Linked DNA regions of Homo sapiens: regions 1, 3 and 4 are each linked to region 2. Evidence: promoter capture Hi-C in 16 types of primary human blood cells and fetal thymus (Javierre and others, 2016). All regions are on one chromosome and are shown on one strand. Each heading gives the region's core, a stretch centred on a gene start or on the middle of the fragment in contact. The rest is flanking DNA. Distances are from core to core; before and after follow the strand shown. Region 1 overlaps ZSCAN2 (zinc finger and SCAN domain containing 2). Region 2 holds the start of PDE8A (phosphodiesterase 8A). Region 3 holds the start of LINC00933 (long intergenic non-protein coding RNA 933). Region 4 holds the start of SEC11A (SEC11 homolog A, signal peptidase complex subunit).

Region 1 (2,810 bases), core at 30-2,529, 360 kb after region 2:
TTCTGTGCTCCTGACACTTTCTGGAAATAGAAAGGGTCTTTACCTTCACGTGGGTGACTCAGAACTGGAGAAGCCCCTCCATCTTGACCTGAAATCAAAGCCCAAGACACCAAAGCCAGAAGAGCAGATTCTAACTGACAGCTTGGGGTGCCCTGGAACACTAACAGCTTGGGGTGAAGGCACCTTAGCCCAACAACGTGGCAGCAAAACAACAAAACAACCAGAACCACACCAATGATTTCCAGTATTTCTCTGAGGACTCGGCCCACGTTGTGGGCCATGCTGTCTTCCATTCCACATGGAGAAACATTTCCCCCCATTTTACCAAAGAGGAAACTGAGGCACAGAGGAATCATGAGAGGGGGCCAATCAAGTCACCCAATGTAAGGGAAAAAGACCCAACTTTCCAGACCTTCCACGCCTATGCCCTGTTCTTGAATGTATACGGGACTTGACTCAGACCACTAAAATGACAGTGTCCTGGAAATGAGGATGAGCAAGGGGAAGACTCTGGCAAAACCCCCCAGAATGTTTAGGAAGCACAGCTCTTTGAAAGGGAATCACTGTTGGGGCAGTGTGGCAACTCCCACTCCAGGCCAGTCCCTCACTTTCACTCTTTGCCACTTCAATAAAGTTTCTCTTTCATGTGAGTTCTCTGATGTGTGATAAAGTTAGAGCTGTTGCTGAAGCCTTTGCCACACTCGGGGCATTTGTAGGGCTTCTCCCCAGTGTGGATTCGCTGATGTATAATGAGGACTGAGTTCCAGCTAAAGCCTTTCCCACACTCAGGGCACCTGTAGGGCTTGTCTCCCAAATGGGCTCTCTGGTGCATGACCAGAATGGAGCCCCGGCTGAAGCTCTTGCCGCACATGAGGCATTTGTAGGGCTTCTCGCCCGTGTGGGTCCGCTGGTGCACTACGAGCTGGGAGCGCTGGCTGAAGCATTTCCCACACTCGCTGCATTTGTAGGGTTTCTCTCCCGTGTGGATCCTCTGGTGCTTGAGGAGGTTGGAGCTCCAGCTGAAGCTCTCCCCACATGTCAGGCACTCGTAGGGTTTCTCCCCTGTGTGCATGCCCTGGTGTGCAATCAGACTGGAGCTCTGGCTGAAGCTCTTCCCACACACCCCACACTTATAGGGCTTCTCCACCATGTGGGTTCTCCGGTGTGTGGCCAGGTTAGAGCTGCGGCTGAAGCTTTTCCCACACTCGCTGCACTGGTAGGGTTTCTCTCCTGTGTGGGTTCTCCGGTGGGTGATGAGGGCTGAACTCTGGCTGAACCTCTGCCCACAGTCGGTACATTTGTAGGGTTTCTCTCCTGTGTGGATTCTCTGGTGTCTGATTAGATTGGAGTTGTAACTAAAGCTTTCGCCGCATTCTTTACATTCGTAGGGCTTTTCTCCAGTGTGGATCCCCTGATGCGTGTTAAGGCTGGATCGGTTGCCAAAGCTCTTTCCACACTCGGGGCACGAGTAGGGTTTCTCTCCTGTGTGGGTGCGCTGATGTGCAATGAGGTTGGGACTCCTGCTGAAGCTCTTGCCACACTCGGCACACTGGAAGGGCTTTTCCCCCGTGTGGATCCTCTGGTGGGTTATGAGGTTGGCACTCCGGCTAAAGCTCTTCCCACAGTCTCTGCATTTGTAGGGCTTCTCCCCGGTGTGAGTGGTTTGGTGTCTACTAAAATTTGAACCATCACTAAAGCTTTTTCCACATTCATCACATTTGTAGTATTTCTCTCCTGTGTGGGTCCTCTCGTGTGTGATGAGGTGGGATTTCCGGCTGAAGGTCTTCCCACACTGGGGACATTCGTAGGGCTTCTCCCCTAGGTAGGTGCCCTGCAGGCCTATGAGCTGGCCAACTTCCCTGTCCTGAGAAACCACCTCCCCGTGGTCCTCACCTGGGCTGTGTCCCTGGAGCCTCTGGATGCCAGCATCTCTCTCAAAGTCACTTTCCCCATCGGAGTGCTGAGCACTTTCACCTTCAGGCATTTCCGAGAATATCTTACGTGATTCATTCTCAAACATGTCTTGATTACAGTTCTCCCCATTTTCACTCTGTATCTCAAAATCTGAAACAATGAAGAAAAACATACAATGTCTACTCAACTCCCTGTCATGATGACAAAAGAAAACGAAGGGGGAAATTTATAAAAATTAAACTTCCAGTGAACACAAAGAGGCTAGAAAATCCTCAAAGCCTTTAATAATCAGGTTTAATATACCCAAAGGAATATAAATCATTCTATTATAAAGATACATGCACACACATGTTCAATGCTGCACTATTCACAATAGCAAAGACATAGAATCAACCCAAATGCCCATCAATGATAGATTGGATGAAGAAAATGTAGTACATATACACCATGGTATACTATGCAGCCAAAAAAAAGAATGAGATCATATCTTTTGCAGGGACATGAATGGAATTGGAAGCCATTATCCTCAGCAAACTAACATAGGAACAGAAAACCAAACACTGCATCTTTTCTCTTATAAGCAGGAGCTGAATGAAGAGAACACATGAGCACATGGAGGGAAATAACACACCCTGGGGCCTGTGGGGGAGGGGGAGGGAGAGCATCAGGAAGAATAGCTAATGGATGCTGGGCTTAATACCTAGGTGGTGGGATGACCTGTGCAGTAAACCACCATGGCACGCATTTACCTTTGTAGCAAACCTGCACATCCTGCACATGTACCCCTGAACCTAAAAGCTGATGGAAAAAAAAAAAAAAAAAAACCAACCCAGGCTTATTTCATTCTGACTGGTTGTCAGGCCTCATAATCTTTGTGGCAATCACCCAGAATTTCA
Region 2 (2,732 bases), core at 233-2,732:
AAACTGGTCGTGATGAGAGGGATGACAGCCAACAATCTGCAGCCATGCACGAATTTTGTTGTTGTTGTCTTTTACTGGTTTAACAAAACATAAACCAACGCATGAGTTCCAGCTTTAAATTCTGAAATGAGAGAACTGGAAAGCTGCTGCTGTGTGCCTTAATGATCACGTTTTTCTTTTTCCTTTTTAACTTTCCTTTAGAAAACCTCAACAAAGACTAAGCCCAGAAACTTTGACAAAACATAAGCCAAGGCAACATGCGCTGGAGAAGACACGCAATGTAAAAAAACAAAAAACCCCAGTCACAAAATGTCCCAGTAAGTCGGCTTAATAAAAGATTAACTTTGTTCTGCTGAATGCTTCAAAAATCGCGTTTCACAGTATTTTCTAATTACATATGCTTTAAATACAGTATGTATGCTAATAAACGTGGACCTCAAATACATGTGCAATGAAGCAAAGCTGATGTTCCAGATTACATTCTAGCAGTCCCGAAGAAAATGGTAACCTGCAACTGCATGTGCAAAGCTGACAGAGGGAAAAGAGTGGTGAGGCCAGTCGCCCTTCCCTTTCTACCACAGGAAAAGAACAAAGTTCACACTGATTTAACATTGCAGGGGCGCGCCAGAATATCCTGGGGGTTTCCCTCAAACACCCGCTCTTGGAGAGGAAATTGATGCAAGCGCCTCAGTCAACTTCACATCGGGCCCCGCCGCTCCGGGAGTCGGATGTGTCCAAAAAACCGACGCCGCGACACAGGCGGCGTCCTAATCGCAACCCTAGGAAATCAGGGTCGCGGGACCTGGGTCGGTCCTTCTCTGAACGCTGCCCCGGCAAGGCGGGAGACTGGCGTCAATCAGAACCATCCAAAGCGGGACAAGAGGGCACCGAGGCCGGGTGGGGGGGACCCCGCCCGGCCCCTGCGGGAAAGTTGCTTACTGGCCGGGCCCGAGTTTCGCGGCGGCCCCAGAGTGCCCGGCGCCCCTTACCTTCTTGCCGCTGCCGTCGCGAAGCTCCGACTCCAAGAGGCCGGCGCCGCGGGTCCGGGGCAAGGCGGCCGTCTTCTGGCCCTGCGGGAGGCGCGGCCCGCCGGACGACAGCGGCGGTGCCGCGGGGCTAGGCGCGTCCTCGGCCACCAGGCGCTCGGAAATGTGGATGCTCGGGGCACAGCCCATGCTGGCGGCGGCGCCGCGGACACGCTGGCGGGTAGCCGCGATCCGGTCAGCAAACGGCCCACCCGGCGCCTCCGGGCCGCCGCGGGCGCCGTGTCATCGCCGCCTGGGCGGGCGGCGGCGAGCGCGGATCTCGCGTCAGGAAACGCGGCCGCCCCTTTTATCGCGGTGCGGGCGCTGCGGCGGCGGCGGCTGCGGTGGGAAGGGGGCGCTTAGGCGGGTGGCGTGCCGAGGCCGCCCCTCCGAACATGCCCTTCCTGAGGCAGGAGCCGACGGCCGCCTCTCACATCGCCGGGCTCGCCTCGGCCGCGCTTCCGGGGAAATAGGGGGAGGAGATTTGCGCTCTCCTTACCCAGGAGCGGCTGAGTCCACGCCGCGCGAGCCACGCTGCCCTCGCCGAGCTGCGGCACGACCCCCGGGGGAGGCGAGCTCCCGGCCGCGCCCGGCCCCGCTCCCGCCGCCGCCGCCGCCGCCTCCCCGGCTCCAGACTCCGCCTAGATGTGGACACCCACGCCGCTCCGCCCGCTGGGCCGCCGCCTCGCGGAAAAGCCCCCCCAGGCCGAGTGCCGGTGGGGTACAAGGCTAGCCTTAGACGCTCCCGCTGGCCGGGGTTTAGGCGCGGGGTCCGAGGGAAACCCCTCGGAGCGGCCGGGCCACGTCCGCCAGGGTAGGGAGGGGAGCAGCTCGGCTCCAGCGGGGCCTGGGGCCGCACCGTCGAGAAGCGCAGAAACGGCTGCGCGCACCCAGGAGTTGCTGGCGGTACGGCTCCGGCTCCGGCTCCGTGATCCGGGCCGGGTTTTGCCGGCAGCGTGCCGCGCCGAGCCCCCAGCGGTGACCTCCAGCGGGTGCTGGCGTCAATGCAAAGCAGCTGGGGCGCCCGCCACCTCCTCCGGACGCCGCCCGCAACTGAGCATGCGCGGCGACGACAGGCGGGGCGCCCGACTGGGCTACCCAGAGAAGGAAAGAGACTTGCCCAGGGACACACAGCCACCTCCGTCCCGAGGCCACCAGAAGCCCGACCGCCAAATTCGAATTCCGGCTCCGTAACTTAGCGGCTACTTGACCTCGGTGGGGTCACCAAGTGTGAGCCCTGGAGCTGTTACCCAGAAAAGAGGCCGGTGGAAAGACCTCCTTTGGGGGTAGTGAAAGTCAAACTGGGGCGCCGCGCGCCGGGTCCCGGGTGGGTGGGGCCTGGGCGTCCGCGAGAAGCCGCAGCCCACGTGCGCTCCCTCGCAGGCCAAAACCTGGCGCGCCACGCCTCGGATTACACAGGCGCCGGGGCGGCCGCAAAGCTACAGCACCGGGCAGGCTGCAGGCGCCCGTCCTCCTCTCATTTTAACCAAAGTGCTAGTCGGGCGTCCGAGACCCCAAAGGCAGAGCCAGGGGAAGGGGCGTACGCATTGCAGGCCTGGGGCCCATGAGGACCCCGGACACGCACACAGCCACTAGCTTGCTGTGTGAACTGGGCCAGTCACTTAACTTCTTGGTGGCTGGGGCTCCTCCCCCACCAGCTGGAGGGCGGTGTCTCTGGGCGTCCATCACGTATCCTGTAGCGGGCTG
Region 3 (2,881 bases), core at 341-2,840, 410 kb after region 2:
GGGCAACAGAGCGAGACTCCATCTCAAAAAGCAAAACAAAAGAAAACAAAAAACATTTTCATAGAAATGAGGTCTGGCTTTGTTGCCCAGGCTAGTCTCAAACTCCTGGCTTCAAGTGATCCTCCCCCTTGAGCCGTATTATTTCATTTAATCTTCACCATCACCTTATAAGAGTGCTTGGGGGTAGGTGCTCCACACAGTAGCAACGTAGCAACCTCCACTCATAGTGACAACGAGACTCAGTGTAGTCAAGCAACTTCTCAAAGTTCACACAGCTGGAGGGTGGCTGAGCCAGGATGAAGACCTAGGACTCTAAAGCTGGTGTGCCAGTAAATGAGAAAAGTCTCTAAGCGTTCAGGATAGCTTCCTCCCAAGAAATCTTTCTCCAAAAGTTCTAAAAACAATGACAGATCCATCTTTTATAAAGCAGACAAAACTAGCAGTCCGTTCCTTTTAGAGTGGGGTGTAAAGGTTAGCTAAGCTCCAGGGCATCCCATTTTAATCCTATATATTTATAAGGCAACTGCCAGCAGAGCACCCCAAACCTAAAGAACCCTGCACAGCTGTCTCTGTGGGGCATGGCGTGTCCATGGATGTAAAGATTTTCCAATGTGTGCTTACGGGCCTGTGGCATCACCCTCAGTCACTGTCAAAGGGTAGCTAGGCCCTGCCCGCTAGGCACCATCCTGAGAATCTGCTGAGCTTTCTAACTAGTTTATCTGTTGTTTGCAGTGAAAGATGCCCTGAAAAGAAGGGGTGTGGGTGGGAAGAGTTCTGATTTGAGGTCCCCTGATCCAGGCATGCTCTTCTTCCCCAGTTGCAGGAATCAGGGGACTCTATCTGTAAATGCGGGCTCAAGCCATGCCCCCCAGCTCCCTCTTTCAACCAGGTGCCACCCTCTGCTTCTCTTCCATAGACAGCCTAGAGCTGCCAGCAGTCCCTTAGGATCTGTGGCCTCAGGCCTGGCTTAATTTTTTCCTCTCCAAAGAGCCATCTGTAGGGCCAGAGGCCGTCAAAGCCTGACTCATTACTGGATGCCAGTTCCTTTGCCTGACCTTCAGTGATTCCTACCTTACCCTGCGGTTTTATGTTTCTTGTCTCAACACTATTATTTCTTATTTCTCCACAAGTTGAATTGCTCACTCCAGCCCCTCGAAGCATGCTCTTTTTGACACAGTTAGCTTTAGGCACATGGTTGGTGCTAAAAAAAAAAAAAAAAAAAAAGAGCATTATGTCGTTTTCATTGATTAACAAACGTGATGGCTTCACTGCAAAGTAAAGTTGATACTGCCTGGACCCCTGAGTTCAAGAGTCTTTTAGACAAATGGCTCTGAGCTAAAACATGAGCATGCAAACATATGCATCTGTTTCGGTCTGATGAGATAATTTGGATACTTGGTTGTTATCCTTGAGCATTTTCCTGCCTCATTAATGCATGTGTAGCCAGCACAATAATAATCATAGCTAATAATGGCTAAAGCTGAGGGCTTTCCTGAGCCAGGCAGTGGCTTTAAAACTTTAAAGTGGCTTTTAAAACTTTAACAGCTAAAGCTGAGGACTTTCCTGAGCCAGAAAGTGGCTTTAAAACTTTAAAGTTTTCACATGGACTCTCATTGAATAATTTCTGTTTTTCAGATCAAGAAACTGAGACTTACTATCACATTTGGGATTAAGTTAAAAAAAAAAAAAGAAACTGAGGCTTAAAGCTGTCAAGCATTTCACAGCCAGCAAGCAGCTAAATCGGAACTTGAACCCAGGCAGTCTAGCCCTGGGATCCTGTGCCCTTCCTTACCCATTATCCAGTGTTGGCTACACAAAACTAATGAGTACATATTTTCAACTATAGTTTAAGTGGGTGACATATTTTTCACTATATTTTATGTAGGTGACTTTCAGTTTGGGGGTATTCTACTTACACAATCTATTGAGCTGGATATTACTGAGAACAAAAAGAAACTAATGAACTCTGAAAAACATAAAACATGAGCAACATGACATCACTGCAAAAGACAAAACAGCACATAGCCTTCTTGTGACTGTATTTTGCTGACAGTCCATGAGCTGATAGCCTGAACTCAGCAGTGCTGTTCCCTTGGGAGACACACACACACACACACACACACACACACACACACACACACGAGTTGGTGGTTTTGTACCTCCCCCCGCCCCTAAATACACACACACCAGTTGGTGGTTGTGCAGCCTGGAGCTTCCAGTCCGCGAGTGTGAGGAACGGACTAGATGGGTCCAGCAGTGCTGGGTCAAAGCCAGGAGGGGGCAGCCGGAAGCGCGCACATGCTCTGGACTCGTGCACCCGCCGAAACGGGTGCGCACCGGGCGCGCGGGGGTGAGAGGTGAGGGGTGAGGGGTGAGGGACGAGAGGGACGGGAGCGGGGTAGGGGCAGCCCTTTCCCAGGCGGTAGCGGGGGCGGTGGTGCTGTTGTCCTTTTAAGCTGTGGCTTGACAGGAGGAGCGCCTCCTGTCGGTGGAGTCTGTTACAAGGGGAGCAGCCGCCCAGGCCGCCACACAGCTCCCCGCAGAGGCCTCGGTGCCCCTTGCCATTTTCCAGCCCTACTCCGACTAGAGTTGAGGCAGCGGGGAGAGGCGGAGCCGCGAGAGCGCCGCCGAGAGGTCCCGCGGGTGGTCGCGGCCATGACAGCGGCTCCCGACCGGCTCACCTTCCGCGCCCCTCCCGCCAGAGGTGAGAGTAAAATGTCCGTGTCAGGGTTCAAGGCCAAGCTGAAGTTGTTGTCCTCTATTTTCCACAAGAACCAGGAGCCGCCGCGGCAGCTCAGGCTCCACTGCAACATCACGGTGAGGCGCCCAGCGGCGGCTTCACACGGCAGGGCGAGGGCGGAGAGGAAGAGCCCGGAGTCCC
Region 4 (2,700 bases), core at 59-2,558, 270 kb after region 2:
GGGAGAGAAGGATTATTTTGAAAAAAAAAAAAAAAAAAAAAAAAGAGAGAGAAATGATACCAAGTAATCCAGCTTTAGTCTTTGTTGACTGAAGTGCGTATTAGGAGCTTTGGCCAGTCAAAGCAAAAGGTAGCGAAAAGATAGTCACTTCAAGGTGTCCAAGTTAAGAAAACCAGGAGGTAGAATTCAAGGAGACCATGTCAAATCCTGTCAGCAAAGTCAAGGTCAGAAAGGAAGCCACTTCCTAACGACCCACACCACTGGTGGTCTCATCACGCTGTTGCACCATTTGGATGTTTTCTAATTCTCCCGGGCTGTTTTCTCTCCAATTGGACTGTAAACTCCTGGCAGGCTCAGGCAGTGCTCGGAAGGTCTCTCACACGGTCCAACCTTACGCGAAAAGCACTTATTGAAAGCACCTCGATGGCCGGGCGCGGTGGCTCACGACTGTAATCCCAGCACTTTGGGACGCCAAGGCGGGCGGATCACCTGAGCTCAAGAGTTCGAGACCAGCCTGGCCAACATAGTGAAACCCTGTCTCTACTAAAAATACAAAAATTAGCCAGGTTTGGTGGCGCGCGCCTGTAGTCCCAGCTACTTGGGAGCCTGAGGCAGGAGAATCGCCTGAACCCGCGAGGCGGAGGTTGCAGTGAGCTGAGATTGCGCCACTGCACTCCAGCCTGGGCGACACAGTGAGAAAGAAAGGAAAGAGAGAAAGAGAAAGAAAAAGAGAAAGAGACAGACAGACAGAAAGTAAGCAAGCAAGCAAGCAAGCACCTCAACAGAGACAGAGACGTAAAGAAAGAGAGACAGAGACAGAAAGAAAGAAAGCACCTCCTCAGCTTCCCATAGCGCAGGAGACTTGCTCGACCAGAGAACCTACGGTCAGACGACACATCCACTGCCACACCCATACCCAAGCCGGGACGCGGAACCGCTTCTACCCGCCCACACCGGAGAGGTTGCTCGCGATTGGCCGGGCGGGCACAGAGGCCCGCCTTCCGAAGGTGGCAGAGCAGCCTCCCCAACTAAGCCTGGGTCGCCGCCTCGGTGAAGGGCCGCGGGGCCGAGCGCGGGAAGTGGCGTCCAGTCGGTTTTTGGCAGGCGAGAGCCAGAGCGTGAGAACCCTCCCACGGCGAGGCCAAGCCCTGAGACTGGACTAGCAAGGTCGTGAGTCTCTCTGTCAGCTCTCCGCAGCGAAGGGGCGCGGGGGGCGGGGACCGTGCCCGACCGTGCCAGCTCCCGCCCCGGAAGCGGAAGTGCAAGCACTGCGGGGTCCTGTCCAGTGTGAGCCCGACCCGAGCTCCAGTAGTTCCGCCCGCTGGTCATCGCGCCCTTTCCCCTGCCGGTGTCCTGCTCGCCGTCCCCGCCATGCTGTCTCTAGACTTTTTGGACGATGTGCGGCGGATGAACAAGCGGCAGGTGAGCTTGTCCGTCCTCTTTTTCTCCTGGCTCTTCTTGTCCCTTCGAGGCTGCTGCTGCGGGGCCCGGCGGACCCCAGGGTTCTGGTGTGAGGGTCTGAGCTGGTCTGATACCCGGGTCATTCGCTTTCTTTGGAGACTGTGGCCAGAGGCCGCCTTGTCCGCCTCATTATTTTTAACCCCGAACTGATTCAGGGCCTACCGGGGGCGGGGCGGGAAGCGGTGTCTTCACGTTCCATTCCTCCCACTGAGGCAGGGGAGCAAATGGAAACCGTACGCGCTTGAAGTGGGAGTTGGGGTTGCTTATTGTTTTAGTCATTTTAAGGCGGCGGACTCTTGATTTCTCCAGTCGGAGCGACTCCAGGTGGTTTCGGGAGAGACGAGGTTTAGCCGGTTTCTGGGGCGCTCAGGAAGGCGATTGGAGGCCCCACAAAAACCGTTTTGCTGCTTTCAGCTCCTTGCAACCCTTTAGTAGAGCTGAACCGTAGCGGGCTGCACCGACTTTGACTTGGACCACTCTGGGCTCCGAGTTGGAACAGTTACACTACTTGCCCTTGCGTCCGCTTAGCACTAAGGCGGCAGCCCTCGGAATCTATGGTTTTACAGTCCAATATCAGTGCCACGGGGATCTGGAAATGTAGGTCTCCTGATTTTGTCCTTACACTTTACTTTGATCTTCTAGATCGTATGCCAAATAGTACTGAGAATATTGTTGTAATTATTTAGTCCTTAGAAAAGGTTGTTCTGTTTTATCTTTTGCGCCTAGTGTGTCTGTAGAGCCTAGTTTTGCTGCATCGGACTTTTTTTTTGTTTTAAACAGTATTTTACTGTTATGATTATCCTGATGTCACCATTAAGGATTTTTTTTCCTTGGACTTGCATTTTTTGTACTTATAACTGCCACTTAGGGAAGTAGATACACAACCTTTCCTTACTCCCCTTCAGGCCTTAGCTAGCTCAGTGTCAATTCTGTCAGTCAGAATTGAGCATTCTATAAAAATTGCGCAAACGTTACTTTATGTCTTTATGACAACACTTCAAATTTTTACTTGTATAGTGTTGTCTTTTTTTAATCCATATTTGGATTTCTAGATGCCACAGATATTTCTCTGAGGAAAGTATTTATTTTGAGTCTGATATTTATTGTACTCTATGCTAGGTACAATGAGAGAAATGCAAAGATAGTTAAGAAAGACTCGGCCTTCAAGGAGCCTAAATGTGTAGAAAAGGACTAAGGCAAAACAATAACTTTTTTGAGCTCTTGCCATGTGTGAAGCAC

The links. Contacts are between HindIII fragments. The CHiCAGO score rates a contact against its expected background, and 5 or more counts as called.
Region 1: a contact is called between a fragment that was not itself captured here and the fragment with the promoter of PDE8A in region 2, in 2 of 17 cell types (fetal thymus and M1 macrophages). The highest score is 5.7, in fetal thymus.
Region 3: a fragment that was not itself captured here is called in contact with the fragment with the promoter of PDE8A in region 2 in 2 of 17 cell types (fetal thymus and naive CD8 T cells); the score reaches 5.3 in fetal thymus.
Region 4: a contact is called between the fragment with the promoter of SEC11A here and the fragment with the promoter of PDE8A in region 2, in 2 of 17 cell types (monocytes and neutrophils). The highest score is 5.4, in monocytes.

The regions. Positions count from the first base shown.
Region 1 is chr15:84,619,856-84,622,665 of GRCh38, reverse strand. It overlaps ZSCAN2 (zinc finger and SCAN domain containing 2), which reads right to left. Exons shown (of 3, transcript NM_181877.4): 3 at 1-2,064. The coding sequence ends at 626. Among named protein-coding and RNA genes, the nearest start is that of ZSCAN2, 20 kb to the right of the region's middle. The HindIII fragment of the contact is 168 bases long and covers 1,196-1,363 here.
Region 2 is chr15:84,980,606-84,983,337 of GRCh38, reverse strand. PDE8A (phosphodiesterase 8A) reads right to left here and starts at 1,482. Exons shown (of 22, transcript NM_002605.3): 1 at 990-1,482. The coding sequence starts at 1,175. RefSeq lists an enhancer at 1,301-1,833 and silencers at 1,561-2,050, 2,371-2,420. The HindIII fragment of the contact is 13,609 bases long and covers 1-2,732 here.
Region 3 is chr15:84,570,535-84,573,415 of GRCh38, reverse strand. LINC00933 (long intergenic non-protein coding RNA 933) reads right to left here and starts at 2,767. Exons shown (of 4, transcript NR_038274.1): 1 at 2,682-2,767; 2 at 1,072-1,201; 3 at 165-394. It also overlaps the pseudogene UBE2Q2P1. The HindIII fragment of the contact is 4,246 bases long and covers 1-2,881 here.
Region 4 is chr15:84,714,747-84,717,446 of GRCh38, reverse strand. It overlaps SEC11A (SEC11 homolog A, signal peptidase complex subunit), which reads left to right and starts at 1,308. Exons shown (of 6, transcript NM_014300.4): 1 at 1,308-1,422. The coding sequence starts at 1,372. RefSeq lists enhancers at 1-523, 645-754, 775-894, 524-1,089, 1,565-1,634 and 1 more. The HindIII fragment of the contact is 22,021 bases long and covers 1-2,700 here.